Regions from separate parts of the Homo sapiens genome. Here all the other regions are linked to region 1. The links are contacts of gene promoters, found by promoter capture Hi-C in human tissues and cell types (Jung and others, 2019). All regions are on one chromosome and are shown on one strand. The core of a region is centred on a gene start or on the middle of the fragment in contact, and the rest is flanking DNA. Distances in the headings are between cores, read along the strand shown.

Region 1 (4,362 bases), core at 612-3,111:
TGCAGAGGACCCCGAGGACCTCTTTCCCAGGCCGCAGTGACCAGCCACTGCCCAGGCTGAGCCAGGCCCTGGTGACCCCTGACTGCAACCCTAAGGTTGTGAGTAGAGAGAGCTTCCGCCAAGTGGTAGCCCTTTGGGGTCTTCGCACGGCTCCCCACCCCCCCTGCACCCTCCTGCCAGCTGCCCAGGAGGCCCACCCACACTGAGACTCGGCCAAGGGTCCAGCCACCCATACTGAGATTAAAGGAGGACTAGCAGCATCCGGCAGAGGCCTGTGAGCCCCTCCATCCCTGTGGCCACAACCCTGCCTGCCTCCCCAGAAAAGCCAGGGGCCGCACCTCCTGGTGCCCCACGGGCCCCCCATTAGCCAGCACTGGCTCAGTGTCTGTGAACGAGGTGCTAGGCCCGTGGGGCAAACTGGAGGGACGGGAGATCTGGAGACCAGACTGGGAGACCCAGCCCCGTATGCTGGGACGATGGGCGTCGAGACAGACTGTGATGTGGGGCTTTGGGGAGGGCTGGACACCGACCGCGACAGCCCTCGGTGGGAGTGCCCCTGTGGGGGTGCTGGCCTCAGGGCAGGAGTGCCCCTGGGGACAGTTCAGGAACAGCCTCTAAGGGGCACTGCAAGGCCCACGTGGGGCCCACCCCATTCATAACACAGGCTGGATGTGGCCTAGCGAGGCTGGCAGGGACAGAGAACCAAGAGCTTCTGGCCACACAGGCTCAGGGTCACAAGACCTGTGGCCTCTACCCATGGGGCTCCCGGCATAGTGTGGCGGGGGGAGCTGGGGAGCCTCCAGGCTATGAGGAGATGTGCCGCGAGGTGGCGAGATTCTGACCCTGCCTGGAGGGCTGCTGGGGACACCCAACCCTTCTCCAGTAGAACCATGCGTGGCAGTGGGAGGGGAGGACCTCCAGAGGGAGACCCTCAGCTCTGGAGCCCAGATCCCCTCCTGATGGAGTAGGAAGGGGACAGTGAAAATTCAGGAAGCTGGACGCTCCTCCGGAACCCGCCCCCGCCCAGGTCAGAGGGTCCAGGGAGGGGCCAGTGGGAAGGACCCAGGTAGGCCCTGCCTCTTGCTGCAGCGGTGGCCTGGGCTGGGCAGGGGAGCCAGCAAGCCACTGAGGGTCCCAGCCCCTTCCCCAAGGGCCCTTGGGGGGCAGGGAGGACGCCACAGCCTCTGCGTCCCTGCTCCCCCTTCTCTTTGTGGGCTCCGTCCAGGGCCTCTGCTCTCTCCCTCCCTGTGTCAGCTTTGCCTTGTGCCAGAGTTGGTTTGGGAGTGAGGACAGAAGACCATCTTGTCCCATAAAGGCACTCAAAGTCCCTGGTGCTGACGGTTACACATGGGTGTAGAGTTTCCAGCATGGGCGCCCCTGGGGACTCAGAGCGCCTCCCCAAAGACGGGGCCTTTTCTGAAGGCGCTGCACTCCAGGAAGGACTTACCGGCTGTTGGGAAGGCAGCCTCCCCAGAACTTGGTGTGAAAAAGGGCCCTCTCCTCCCCATGGAGCCTCCCAGCGGGGGGCGGGGAACGGCAACCAGCGGGACACTGCCGCCCTCCCCCAGTTACTGCCCGGGGGTCCGACTCCGTGGGTGGGTGGCAGCTCGCCTCCGAAAGTCTGGCAGCACCGGCCCTCATCAGCAGCCCTTTCTTTCCCACCCGGGGGGTCTCTCCTTCTGAGAGGTCGCGGGGGAGGTGGGGGGGCTGTGCGCGGGGGAGGCCTCAGCGGAATCCCGCCCGGCCTGAGAAGAAAGGGAGCCCCCGGGGAGGAGGCGGCCCCGACCCGCCCCCGCCCGCCCGCCCCGCCGCCGATTGGCCCTGAGCCGCTATATCTGGGCGCCCGCCCGGCCCGAGGCCACCGCCGTCCCCACCGCCATCCGCCCTCCCGGCCTGGCCTGCCCTTGCGCCCGGCTCCCCAGTGCCCGCCGCCCGCCCGCCGCGCTCCCGCGCTCCGTTCCGCCCAGGCCGCGCCCAGCTGGAATGCAGAGATCGCCGCCCGGCTACGGCGCACAGGACGACCCGCCCGCCCGCCGCGACTGTGCATGGGCCCCGGGACACGGGGCCGCCGCTGACACGCGCGGCCTCGCCGCCGGCCCCGCCGCCCTCGCCGCGCCCGCCGCGCCCGCCTCGCCGCCCAGCCCGCAGCGCAGTCCCCCGCGCAGCCCCGAGCCGGGGCGCTATGGCCTCAGCCCGGCCGGCCGCGGGGAACGCCAGGCGGCAGACGAGTCGCGCATCCGGCGGCCCATGAACGCCTTCATGGTGTGGGCAAAGGACGAGCGCAAGCGGCTGGCTCAGCAGAACCCGGACCTGCACAACGCGGTGCTCAGCAAGATGCTGGGTGAGCGGCGGGAGGGCGGCAGAGAAGGGGGAGAGGGCGGGGGGGGCTCGGGCCGGGGTGGGGCGGGGGGGGCAGGGGTCCCGGGCCGCGGGGTGCGGGGGCTGCGCCAAACCCTCGCGGGGCGTCCCGGGCGCACGGAGGGCTCGGCGCCCACCCGCCCGACGGCGTTCCACTCACTGGCGCCCACGGCCCGCAGGCAAAGCGTGGAAGGAGCTGAACGCGGCGGAGAAGCGGCCCTTCGTGGAGGAAGCCGAACGGCTGCGCGTGCAGCACTTGCGCGACCACCCCAACTACAAGTACCGGCCGCGCCGCAAGAAGCAGGCGCGCAAGGCCCGGCGGCTGGAGCCCGGCCTCCTGCTCCCGGGATTAGCGCCCCCGCAGCCACCGCCCGAGCCTTTCCCCGCGGCGTCTGGCTCGGCTCGCGCCTTCCGCGAGCTGCCCCCGCTGGGCGCCGAGTTCGACGGCCTGGGGCTGCCCACGCCCGAGCGCTCGCCTCTGGACGGCCTGGAGCCCGGCGAGGCTGCCTTCTTCCCACCGCCCGCGGCGCCCGAGGACTGCGCGCTGCGGCCCTTCCGCGCGCCCTACGCGCCCACCGAGTTGTCGCGGGACCCCGGCGGTTGCTACGGGGCTCCCCTGGCGGAGGCGCTCAGGACCGCGCCCCCCGCGGCGCCGCTCGCTGGCCTGTACTACGGCACCCTGGGCACGCCCGGCCCGTACCCCGGCCCGCTGTCGCCGCCGCCCGAGGCCCCGCCGCTGGAGAGCGCCGAGCCGCTGGGGCCCGCCGCCGATCTGTGGGCCGACGTGGACCTCACCGAGTTCGACCAGTACCTCAACTGCAGCCGGACTCGGCCCGACGCCCCCGGGCTCCCGTACCACGTGGCACTGGCCAAACTGGGCCCGCGCGCCATGTCCTGCCCAGAGGAGAGCAGCCTGATCTCCGCGCTGTCGGACGCCAGCAGCGCGGTCTATTACAGCGCGTGCATCTCCGGCTAGGCCGCCGGCGCCGCCCGGGTCCCTGCAGCGCTTCCTCCCGCAGCCCCCGCGACCGATCCGACCGCGTCGCTGCCGCTCTGCTCTCTCATACGCGTGTATGTTTGGTTCCATGTCACAGCCCCCTAGGAGCCAGTGATGCTCGGCCTTGCGCCCGTTCCACCTCCCAGGCCACCCTTCCTGGGCTTCTGGGCCACCTGCCCTCGGGGGGCCCCTGCGAGGGTGCCTGGAGTTCCCACGTGTCCCGGGGCTTTTCCAGGAAGCCCGAGCCCAGGACCTGTTGGCAGAGTTGCCAGGGTTACATTTTTGAAGCACCTGCTCCTTTTCTTGCAGTGTATTTTCTACAACCAGATTGTATTAATATTTTTTACTTTGCCCTTTTAAAAAATATACCTAATACAATATATTTAATTTTTAATTAAACTCTTAAACTTTTCTTCCAAGAAGTTTCAGTGATCAGAAGCGTCACTGTGGCAAAGACTTTTGCAATGTGAGGAATACAGATGTTTGCTTTCTATAAAGGAGGAGCCTGGAGCTGGGTCCCCGGACGGAGAGGCCACAATAAATCCTCGGGCCTTTCCTCTGCACACTGACATCTGTGGTGTTTGCAGGGAGGGAAAAGCAGTTCCCCAAATAGCCCTGGACGCCCCTTCCCTCCGAATCGCCCCCAGGGAGCCTGACTCCTAGCTTGAACCTCATAGCACTCCTTCATCCTTCCGTGACACATCCCAGAGAGCGTGGGTAGCAGGCATGGGTCCACACTCCCCCCCAGCCCTCCACTCCCCTCCTGTCCCACCCCCAGGTTAACTCAAGCCTATCGGAGGTCAGACTATACCAGCAATCCTGTCACACCCCCGCTAGGGTTTCATCGCCCTTGCCTCCACCTTAAAACTTCCATGCCCAAGGACTGCCCAGTACGGCCCCCTTTCCTGAGGGAGGCTGGCAGGTTGGCAGCCCACATGCAGACACAGACTCCAGGGTCTCCGTCAGCTGTTCTAACTCACCCCAGGGAGGACAGCACCATGCTACAC
Region 2 (4,362 bases), core at 596-3,095, 340 kb after region 1:
CTGTAGCCCAGCTCCTAGGGGGGCTGAGGCAGGAGGATCGGTTGAGCCCAGGAGGTCCAGGCTGCAGTGAGCCAGGACTATGCCACTGCACTCCAGCCTGGTTGACAAAGTAAGACCCTGTCTCAAAAAAAATTAAAACAACCACCAAAAAAAAACTGACGATAGGCTGGAGACCTACTCTCTTCCACATAAGCCTTGCACTGCTGCTCGGGCTGCAGTACAGTGGCTGCATCTCCACTCACTGCAAACTCGGCCTCCTGGGTTCAACCAATTCTCCTGCCTCAGCCTCCTGAGTAGCCAGGACCACAGGTGCGCGCCACCACGACCGGTTCATTTTTGTGTTTTTAAGGAGATGGGGTTTCACCATGTTGACCAGCGTGGTCTTGAACTCCTGACCTCAGGTGATCTGCCCGCCTCGGCTTCCTAAAGTGCTGGGATTACAGGCGTGAGCCACCGCGCCTGGCCTCCTTCCATGCTTCTTGATTCACCCCAGAAGGAAGACGTAGACGCCTGAACACAGACACAGCTGTCAAAGCACGCCTGCCCCAGGAAGCTGAGACAAAACTGCAAAGCAAAGGGAGGGCCGATCCTGACCCGACCCTGTGTGCGTGCCCCTTACGCCCCTAAGGTTGGCATCTGACAACAAAGGGCTTTACCTGCAGTTCTCCTTAAAGCGGCACTTTCCCTCCAGGAAGAACGGGCACGGCTTCAGAGACTTGTGAGTGGGGTACAGGTAAAGCACACGGACACCCGCCGAGCCATCCTCCGCCTCTTCCGTTCCCACCACCATGGCGTTGTGATACTCCAGAGTGCCCCAGGAGCTGTAGTAGGGCGCGCTCACCTTTGTCCCACTCAGCTCTTCCTCGTCCTCTCCCTCTTCCTCCTCCTGCCCACCTGCCGCAGATTCTGGCCCCGCCTCTGCTTTAGGAACGGTCTCTGATCCGGACCCACGGGCCGCTGCTGGTGCCTCCACCGCCTCAGTGATGGCCTCCCGGAAAGCCTGGTACTCAGCATCTTCCTGGCGGCCCGGGCGCTCTTCGTCCAGCGCGGCCAACAAGCTGCTCTTCCTGACAGACACCAGGCTGGCCTCGGTGAGCTCGATGAGCTCCTTCAGGTCCCCCTGCAGCTGGCGCAGGTCAGCCTGCTCAGACGAATCCAGGCCGGCGCCCAAGGCCAGCTCCACCTGCTGCAGCTGCGCACGGTAGGTCTGCAAGGCCGACTCCAGGCTCTCCTCGTCCATGCTGAGAGAGGGAGGCGCTGGACCAGGGCTGCAAGAAGAGAAGCCAGCTGAGCCCCGCGTCTCGGGACCGACCCCACAGCCTGAGGGCGGGCACGGGCACGGGCACGTCCCCTTTCCCTCGGGGAGACACCGGCTCAGAGGCACAGCTCCCAGCGCAGAGGTCGCAGCCCGGGTACCCCCGCTCAGGCTCCGCGCTTCCCTTCCGAGCCGCCGTGGGCTCGCCGCTAGCCGGGTCCCGCGTCACTCCGGAGCCCCTTCCCCGCGGGGCGCCCCGCCGCCTCACCCTCCGCCGAGCCCACCCGCCGCGCCCGCCGCCTTCCAGGCCGGCCGCGCCCCCCCGCCCGGCGTCTCTTCTGTCTGGCCAGGGCCGCGTCCCCGCAAACCGCGGCCACCTGGTCCCCGGCCGGGCACCTCCTCCGCGCGGTTTCCCAGCCGCAGCCACAGAGAGCCCGCCGGCCTCACCGGCTAGAGCGGCCCGGCGCCCCCTTTTCGCCCCAGCAGCCGATCGGCACTTCCTCCCGAGCGCCGCCGCTTCCGGAAGTGCTTGGCGCGCGGGGGCAGCCGGGAAGCGGAGCGCGGAGGCCGCTGGGACGCGGTTCAGCTCATTCCCTGAGGCCGGCCCGCGTCCCGTCAGGCGCCGCGCGGGGTTAGCGCGGGGTCAGCGGAGGTCAGCGGGGGTCAGCAGCAGCGGCTCCGAGGGCGCGGCGGACGCAGGTAGGCCGCAGGCTGTGCGGTGAGGCGCGAGGCCCGAGGGGCGGCCCAGGACTCGAGGTGGGACGCGGGTGTGACAGGAGCCAGCTTTGGCTGCTTGTCGGGGAGCCTCAGACCTGGCGGCGGCGGCTTGGGGCGGACGTAGCCGGGGGCCGCGACCCAGGTTCTTCCTTCGCAGTCGTTCCCTGCCAGCCGCGCGCCGCCTCCAGGTGCACTCCAGGAGCAGCCGCGCCGCTGCTCACCCGCCCTGTAGTCCGCTCCCCCCAGGGCCGTCCCCGTTTTAAGAAATGGGGTGATGGGGCGTCCCTACCCGGCGCCTGCAGGGGCTCCTGGGGAGCGCGCCGGTGGCTCGCTGCTCCCGGGTGGGGCGCGGGGCTGGCGCTCGAGGGTGCCGTGGCCCAGGCGGGGCTGCAGCGAGTGTGTTCCCCGTTCCGCGCGCGTGAAGCGTGGGAGCGAAGCCTCGGGGGAGGGCGGGAGCGCGGCTGAGCTCACTGTGAACACCCGGCTGGGTAGTCCCGCGAGCAGGGGAGGGGCCGGAACCGATGTGTATGCGGAGAGGTCGCAGTCATTGCTGTGAGCAGGACACAGTGGCGGCTGACCTGGGAGAAGTTACAGAGGGACGGGGTGGGAGAGGGACGAGGAGTCGGGAATGGCCCCCAGGCTCTCGTCCTGAGCGGTCGGCTGGACGTGGGGCGCCACTGACCACCGTGGAGAAGCCCGGGGGAGGGGAGGTGCTTTCTGGCTGCACACTGACCTATGTTGGGGTGCCCAGGGCAGGATGTACACGCTGCTGTCGGGCTTGTACAAGTACATGTTTCAGAAGGACGAGTACTGCATCCTGATCCTGGGCCTGGACAATGCTGGGAAGACGGTGAGTGCCCACGCCCTTGCGCGCACCTTTCCCACGGCCTGGCGGCGCCCCCTTCGGTTTTGTGCTGTCAGCTGCACGTTCACTACCCAGACGGAAGCCAAATTTCACCTGAGACGGCAGGATAGTCACCACCAGCCTCCTGAAGAGCAGAGTGTTGCTCTGTTTCTGTTTCTGTCTTTTAAAGAACAGACCTGAGTAAGGATATTTGGAAGCCAGTATAGCCCCTCCTTGATGTGTTTCGCCTCTGCCTCTCTCCTCAGACCTTCCTGGAGCAGTCGAAAACCCGATTTAACAAGAACTACAAGGGGATGAGTCTATCCAAAATCACCACCACCGTGGGCCTAAACAGTAAGGGTCTCAATAGCAGGCTGTGGGTTTGGGGCCTTGAGGATGCCGTGATATTCACAGTCCAGCTGGCCCGTGGCCACAGCCCTGTCGGGCCCCTCTCAAGTCTCATTTGAGTGGCACCAGCATGGTTTGCCCCATCCCCTGGGAGAGCTGGGACTGGGTGTGTCGAGGACCAAGGTCATGAGCCTTGCCTGTTTCCTCCTCTCCCCAGTCGGCACTGTGGATGTGGGAAAGGCTCGGCTCATGTTCTGGGACTTAGGAGGGCAGGAAGAGCTGCAGTCTTTGTGGGACAAGGTAAGACTCCCTGGCCAGGACCACCCCCACCCCAGCCCTCCAGTGCCACTTCTTTCCAGAGTGCCCTTTGGGCCCTTCCTCAGCAGTTTTCCTTACCCACTCTGTCCCTCGGGTTTTCTCTCTGGTCCTGTCCCAGGTTCCCGAGTGGCTCCCTGTTTTGTCCCAGCTGAACCCTTAGCTGAAGTTGCCCCAAAAGTGGTGGTAGGGGAGTTTCCCACTTGGGAGTTCCCTGCGATGGGGCCAGTGGAGAATTCCAGGGAAAGAATCACTAAATGCCAAGGCGATCAGATCAGAGCATGTATTAGGGGAACCTGTTGACAGAGTGCGGCATCCTCAGGTGACCAGTGAGAGAAGGGCGTGTTCACTGGTCATGCCTGAAGCCGGGGGGGATCTGGGTTCAGGGCTGGGGCTAGTTTCTTTCAATGTTTTGAAACCTGAACATTATGTTAACAACCTAAACATCTTACAAGTGTCTGGGAATGTTCAAACCCTGGCTTGGGTTTGAGCCTAAGGGCAACCTCGCTGGCCAAGTCAGAGAGGTCAGGGCAGTCTGTTTCTTTCTCAGTCAGGACAAGACAAAGTGTGGGGACCTGGGGACCCTGCACTCCTCCAAAGTGAGTGCCTCCTTTCGGCTCAGAGACCTTGCTGCTGACCACCACAGGACACAGAAATGGCAAAGACCAGATGTGGGGACGGCAGGATGGCTGCCTCTCCCCTGATGAGGTTCCTTCAGTTCTAGCTTAACATTTGTTCTTCCATGATCACCAGAAGACTCCTCAGGGTCTCACAGCGGCAGTCTCCTATTTTGACACAGGTTTTGGGCATTTCTGAGATCCCAGTGTGGTGCCCCTTCCCCACACCCCCAAGGCTGCAGTTTATCTCCTTCTCAGCCTGGGCC
Region 3 (4,362 bases), core at 1,023-3,522, 270 kb after region 1:
CCAGTCTCCAGAGCGTGAGGAAACTAATTTTCGTTGTTAAGCCGCCCTGCCTGTGGTATTTTGTCATGGCATCCCAAGCTAAGACAAAGCCTTAACATAAGTTTGGATATAACCTGTATATTTAGTTCCTAGAAATGCACAATTAATATGATGTGTCATCGAGGGATTTGTAAAAAAATATAAAAAGGAGTATAGTTTGGAAAAAGAGTAGAGTTTGGAAACATATCCCTTAGAGGCCTCCAGAAGAAGTCATAGGTAGCTCGACGGTCCGAATGTCACTGTCCCTGGAGACTCCCACCCGCTCCTGCCAGGCTGGACTCACCCCGTGTGCTGCCTGACGGGGGCCCTGCCCACCTGCCACACCCAGCTCTCAGCTGCTGGGCCTCACGTGTGCATGTTTGTTCCAGGGGTGTTTGCAGACGTCACCTCTGCCCCTGCTCCAAGTGCCCCCTGCCCCATGCCCCTGTGTTTCTGTGGTTCTGATCCCGATTCCTGTCAACGACCACGGTGGAAAATCCATTCTCTTGCTGTGGGAAAATATCTGCAAATCATCATCGCTCAGCGTGTTCTGGGGGTGTTTTGATATCGTGCATACAGCCCCACTAGAGGGAGGGTACTCCACAAAGCCCTGGCTGGCCTGAGCTGACACTCGGAGGAATCCGTTGAATTCATGACTCAAGTCGTCACCTTTTGTTGTTTTTGTTGTTGTTGTTAAATAGAAGCTTTACTGAGAGATGATTCACACCCCACTCACCCATTTAAAGTCTGCAGTTCAGAGGTTTTTGGTATGGTATATTCACAGCATCCTGTAGCCATCAGCACAGTCCCCTTAGAACATTTTCCTCGGCTCAGAGGGAAACCCTGCACCACTTAGCCCTCATCCGAGACCCCTCCCCAGCCCCTTTTTGCAGCCACAAACCTACTTTCTGTCTTGATTTGCCTGTTCTGGATATTTAATGGAAATGAAATGGCATGTGGCCTTCTGTGTCTGGCTTTGTTCACTCAGCAGTTTTCAAGGCTCCTCTGCGTGGTTCTGTGTCTGGCTTCGTCCGCTGAGCATGTTTTCACGGCTCCTCTGTGTGGTGGCCTGTGTCTGTTCTTCATGCCTTTTCATGGCCACATAATATTCCATTGTGGGGATGGACCTGTTATGTTTATCCATTCGTCCATCGATGGACTTGTTGGCTGTTCCACCTTTTGGCTGTTATGGATAACGTGCTACGCGCGTCCTGGACGAGGTTTTCTGTGAGCTTTTGTGTCTTCATTTCTCGTGGGTATCTGCATGCGTACATGTGGAACTGCTGGGCCCCGTGGTGATTCCTGTACCTGATGTTGTGAGGACCTGCCGACCTGCTCCGCAGGAGGGCACCATGTTACACTCTTACCAGCAAGGTTCCAGGGTTCTGATTTCTTCCCATCCTTGCCAATATTATCTGATCTTTTTTGTTGTTGTTTTTGAGATAGGGTCTCACTCTGTCACCCAGACTGGAGTACAGTGGCTCGATCACAGCTCACCACAGCCTCAACCTCTCAGGCTCAAGTGATCCTCCCGCCGCAGCCTCCTGAGTAGCTAGGACCACAGGCACAACCCACCACACTCAGCTAATTTTGTTTTATTTTAACTTTTTGTCCTGCTGTGTTGCCCAGGCTGGTCTTGAACTCCTGTTCTCAATAGATCTTCCGGTCTTAGCCTCCCAAAATGTTGGGACTGGAAGCGTGAGCCACGGTGCCTGGCCTTTTTATATCCAGCCATCCCAGTGGGTGTGTGCTGGAACCGTGGCGTGTGCTGGAACCGTGGCGTGTGGTGGAACCGTGGCGTGTGCTGGAACCGTGGCGTGTGGTGGAACCGTGGCGTGTGCTGGAACCGTGGCGTGTGGTGGAACCGTGGCGTGTGGTGGAACCGTGGCGTGTGCTGGAACCGTATTGTGTGGTGGAATCGTGTTGTGTTTTGCGTTTCCTTAGTGATGGGTGATGCTGAGCATCTCTTCCTGTGCGTCTTGGCCATTTATACATCTTCTTTGGACAAATGTCTAGTAAGATTTTTTGCCCATTTTTATATTGAGTTACAGTATTTGCCTTTTTATTATCAGATATATAGGTTGCAATTTTTTTTTTTTTTTGAGACAGAGCGTTGTTCTGTCGCCCAGGCTAGAGTGCAGTGGTGTGATCTCGGCTCATTGCAACCTCCACCTCCTGGGTTCAAGCGATTCTCCTGCCGCAGCCTACTGAGTAGCTGGGATTACAGGCACGTGCCACCACGCCCGGCTAATTTTTGTATTTTTAGTAGAGATGGGGTTTCACCATGTTGGCCAGGCTGGCCTTGAACTCCTGACCTCAGATGATCCGCCCGCCTCGGCCTCCCAGAGTGCTGGGATCACAGGCTTGAGCCACCGCACCCGGCGTCACTTTCTTGGTAGTATCCTTTGAAGCACAGACATTTAATTTTGATGAGTCCAATTTATTTTGTTGCTTGTGCTTGGTTTTGTATCTAAGAACCTATTGCCAAATCTGAGATCATGCGGATTTTCTTCTAAGAATTTTATAGATTTAGCTCTAACGTCATTGATCCATTTTGAGCCTCTCCTCGTCTTTGCGAGATGGAAATACTGCCGCCCCAGGAGCCTCTGACTCTCAGGCCCTCGGCCCTGGAGCAGAGCAGGTACCAGGTCTGCAGCGCCTCGTCCAGGGAGGGCAACCCCGTTGTTCTGAGTTGAGCCGTCCTCCAAAGCCTTGGCTGAGACTCCACCGCAGCCATGGGACCTGGGTGGGCAGGAAAGGCCGGGCTGGGCCGAGGCTGCTGCATTGCTGGGGCAGGTGCCCGGCTCCCAGGGTGGGCTGGACTTGATGCTGCTCTGTAGCTCAGGCAGAAGCTGGTCGCTGTCCTTCTAAATGTGTCGCCTGTCCCACTTGGAGAGTCTGGGAACGACCCGTGTCTTCTGACGTGTGTCCCTCTGTCCCCAGATGCGGACCTGTCCGTCACCGAAGCCAGCAGCTCCGACAGCCGAGGAGAGAGGGCCGAGCTCTATGCACAGGTGGAGGAGGGTCTCCTGGGAGGAGAAGCCAGCTATCTGGGCCCTCCCCTCACCCCAGAGAAGGACGACGCCCTGCATCAGGCCACCGCGGTGGCCAACCTGCGCGCGGCGCTCATGAGTAAGAACAGCCTGCTGTCGCTGAAGGCCGACGTGCTGGGGGATGACGGCTCCCTGCTGTTCGAGTACCTGCCCAGAGGGGCCCACTCGCTGTCCCGTAAGTGCAGGCCCTGGGGGCCGCTTGGCTTTGGTGTGGTTTTGAAGGCTGAGGGTTGCAGGTCCCGGGCCAAGATGAGATGAGGCTGAGGGTCTGTCCCTGCTGCTCGGCCGCCTGCTGACCTCCCTGTTGCGGGAGGTGAGGATGCGGCGTCACAGCCTGGACTGGCCTCTCAGGTGCACGGGGGGCTGGCTTTAGAGTGAGGAGGGAATGGACGCGGTTGTGAGCGCGGCGGGCAGGGGAGCAGCCGAGTGCTTGCTGGAATGTTTCTCACAGGAGTCGTTGGCTGAATGCGAGCTCGTCCGGGTCGCGCAGGGGCCGGGGGTCTTTGTGCTCCAGAGACGGGCTCGGGCGCCCCCTGCCGGCCCCTCTGTCGCCTTCGTGCTGAGGCTCGTTTCGCGCAAGGGAGATGGGGGCGGCCGCTGCGAGCCGATTGCACTTGGGGGCCTCGCCTTGCGTTGCCTTCGCTGGATGATGCTGGTGGCGTGTGACTTTTAAAGATGCGTCGGAGGTTGTCTTTAAAACGTAAATGTCCCCAGCTGAATCCAAACGACGACGCGCCTGCCGAGATGTGGCCAAAAGTTCAGCCACTGCTGCGTGTCGGGCTCACCCCAGACTGACTGACTTCCTGACAAGACGGGGGCATTCAGCTTTCGGAGTTTAAAAAAACAAAGGGGCCGGGCGCGGTGGCTCACGCCTGCAATCCCAGCACTTTGGGAGGCTGAGGCGGGCAGACCACGAGGTCAGGAGATCGAGACCATCTTGGCCAACACGGTGAAACCCCGTCTCTACTAAAAATACAAAAAATTAGCCGGGCGTGGTGGCGGGCGCCTGTAGTCCCAGCTACTCGGGAGACTGAGGCAGGAGAATGGCGTGAACCCGGCAGGCAGAGCTTGCAGTGAGCCGAGATCGCGCCACTGCACTCCAGCCGGGGCGACAGAGGGAGACTCTGTCTCAAAAAAAAAAACAAAAAAAAAAACAAAAAAAACCCACCGCAGCCAGCCCCCAGCCAGCTGCCTTCTGGTCTCGCGCTCATGTGGGCCCCCGGGCAAGGCCTGGTGCTGGCACCTAGCACATAGCTGGCACTCAGCATGCGGCTGAGAGTGAGTGAGGCGC

The links. Contacts are between HindIII fragments. The study calls those that stand out against the background at their distance.
Region 2: the fragment with the promoter of ARFRP1 here is called in contact with the fragment with the promoter of SOX18 in region 1 in 1 of the 25 tissues and cell types used here (lymphoblastoid cells).
Region 3: a contact is called between a fragment that was not itself captured here and the fragment with the promoter of SOX18 in region 1, in 1 of the 25 tissues and cell types used here (lymphoblastoid cells).

The regions. Positions count from the first base shown.
Region 1 is chr20:64,047,138-64,051,499 of GRCh38, reverse strand. It overlaps SOX18 (SRY-box transcription factor 18), which reads left to right and starts at 1,861. Exons shown (of 2, transcript NM_018419.3): 1 at 1,861-2,341; 2 at 2,538-3,918. The coding sequence starts at 1,984. The coding sequence ends at 3,334. RefSeq lists promoters at 1,721-1,981, 1,084-1,981, 876-1,984, an enhancer at 1,309-1,990 and a silencer at 2,122-2,171. The HindIII fragment of the contact is 20,169 bases long and covers 1-4,362 here.
Region 2 is chr20:63,705,459-63,709,820 of GRCh38, reverse strand. ARFRP1 (ARF related protein 1) reads left to right here and starts at 1,845. Exons shown (of 8, transcript NM_001267547.3): 1 at 1,845-1,954; 2 at 2,724-2,822; 3 at 3,083-3,170; 4 at 3,382-3,464. The coding sequence starts at 2,730. It overlaps ZGPAT (zinc finger CCCH-type and G-patch domain containing), which reads right to left and starts at 1,782. Exons shown (of 7, transcript NM_181485.3): 1 at 1,703-1,782; 2 at 657-1,268. The coding sequence starts at 1,240. RefSeq lists silencers at 1,510-1,669, 1,710-1,769, 2,190-2,429, 2,520-2,569 and enhancers at 897-1,857, 2,720-2,779. The HindIII fragment of the contact is 11,218 bases long and covers 1-2,394 here.
Region 3 is chr20:63,774,562-63,778,923 of GRCh38, reverse strand. ZBTB46 (zinc finger and BTB domain containing 46) reads left to right here. Exons shown (of 5, transcript NM_001369741.1): 3 at 2,962-3,246. Among named protein-coding and RNA genes, the nearest start is that of ZBTB46-AS1, 31 kb to the left of the region's middle. RefSeq lists an enhancer at 467-1,004. The HindIII fragment of the contact is 8,553 bases long and covers 1-4,362 here.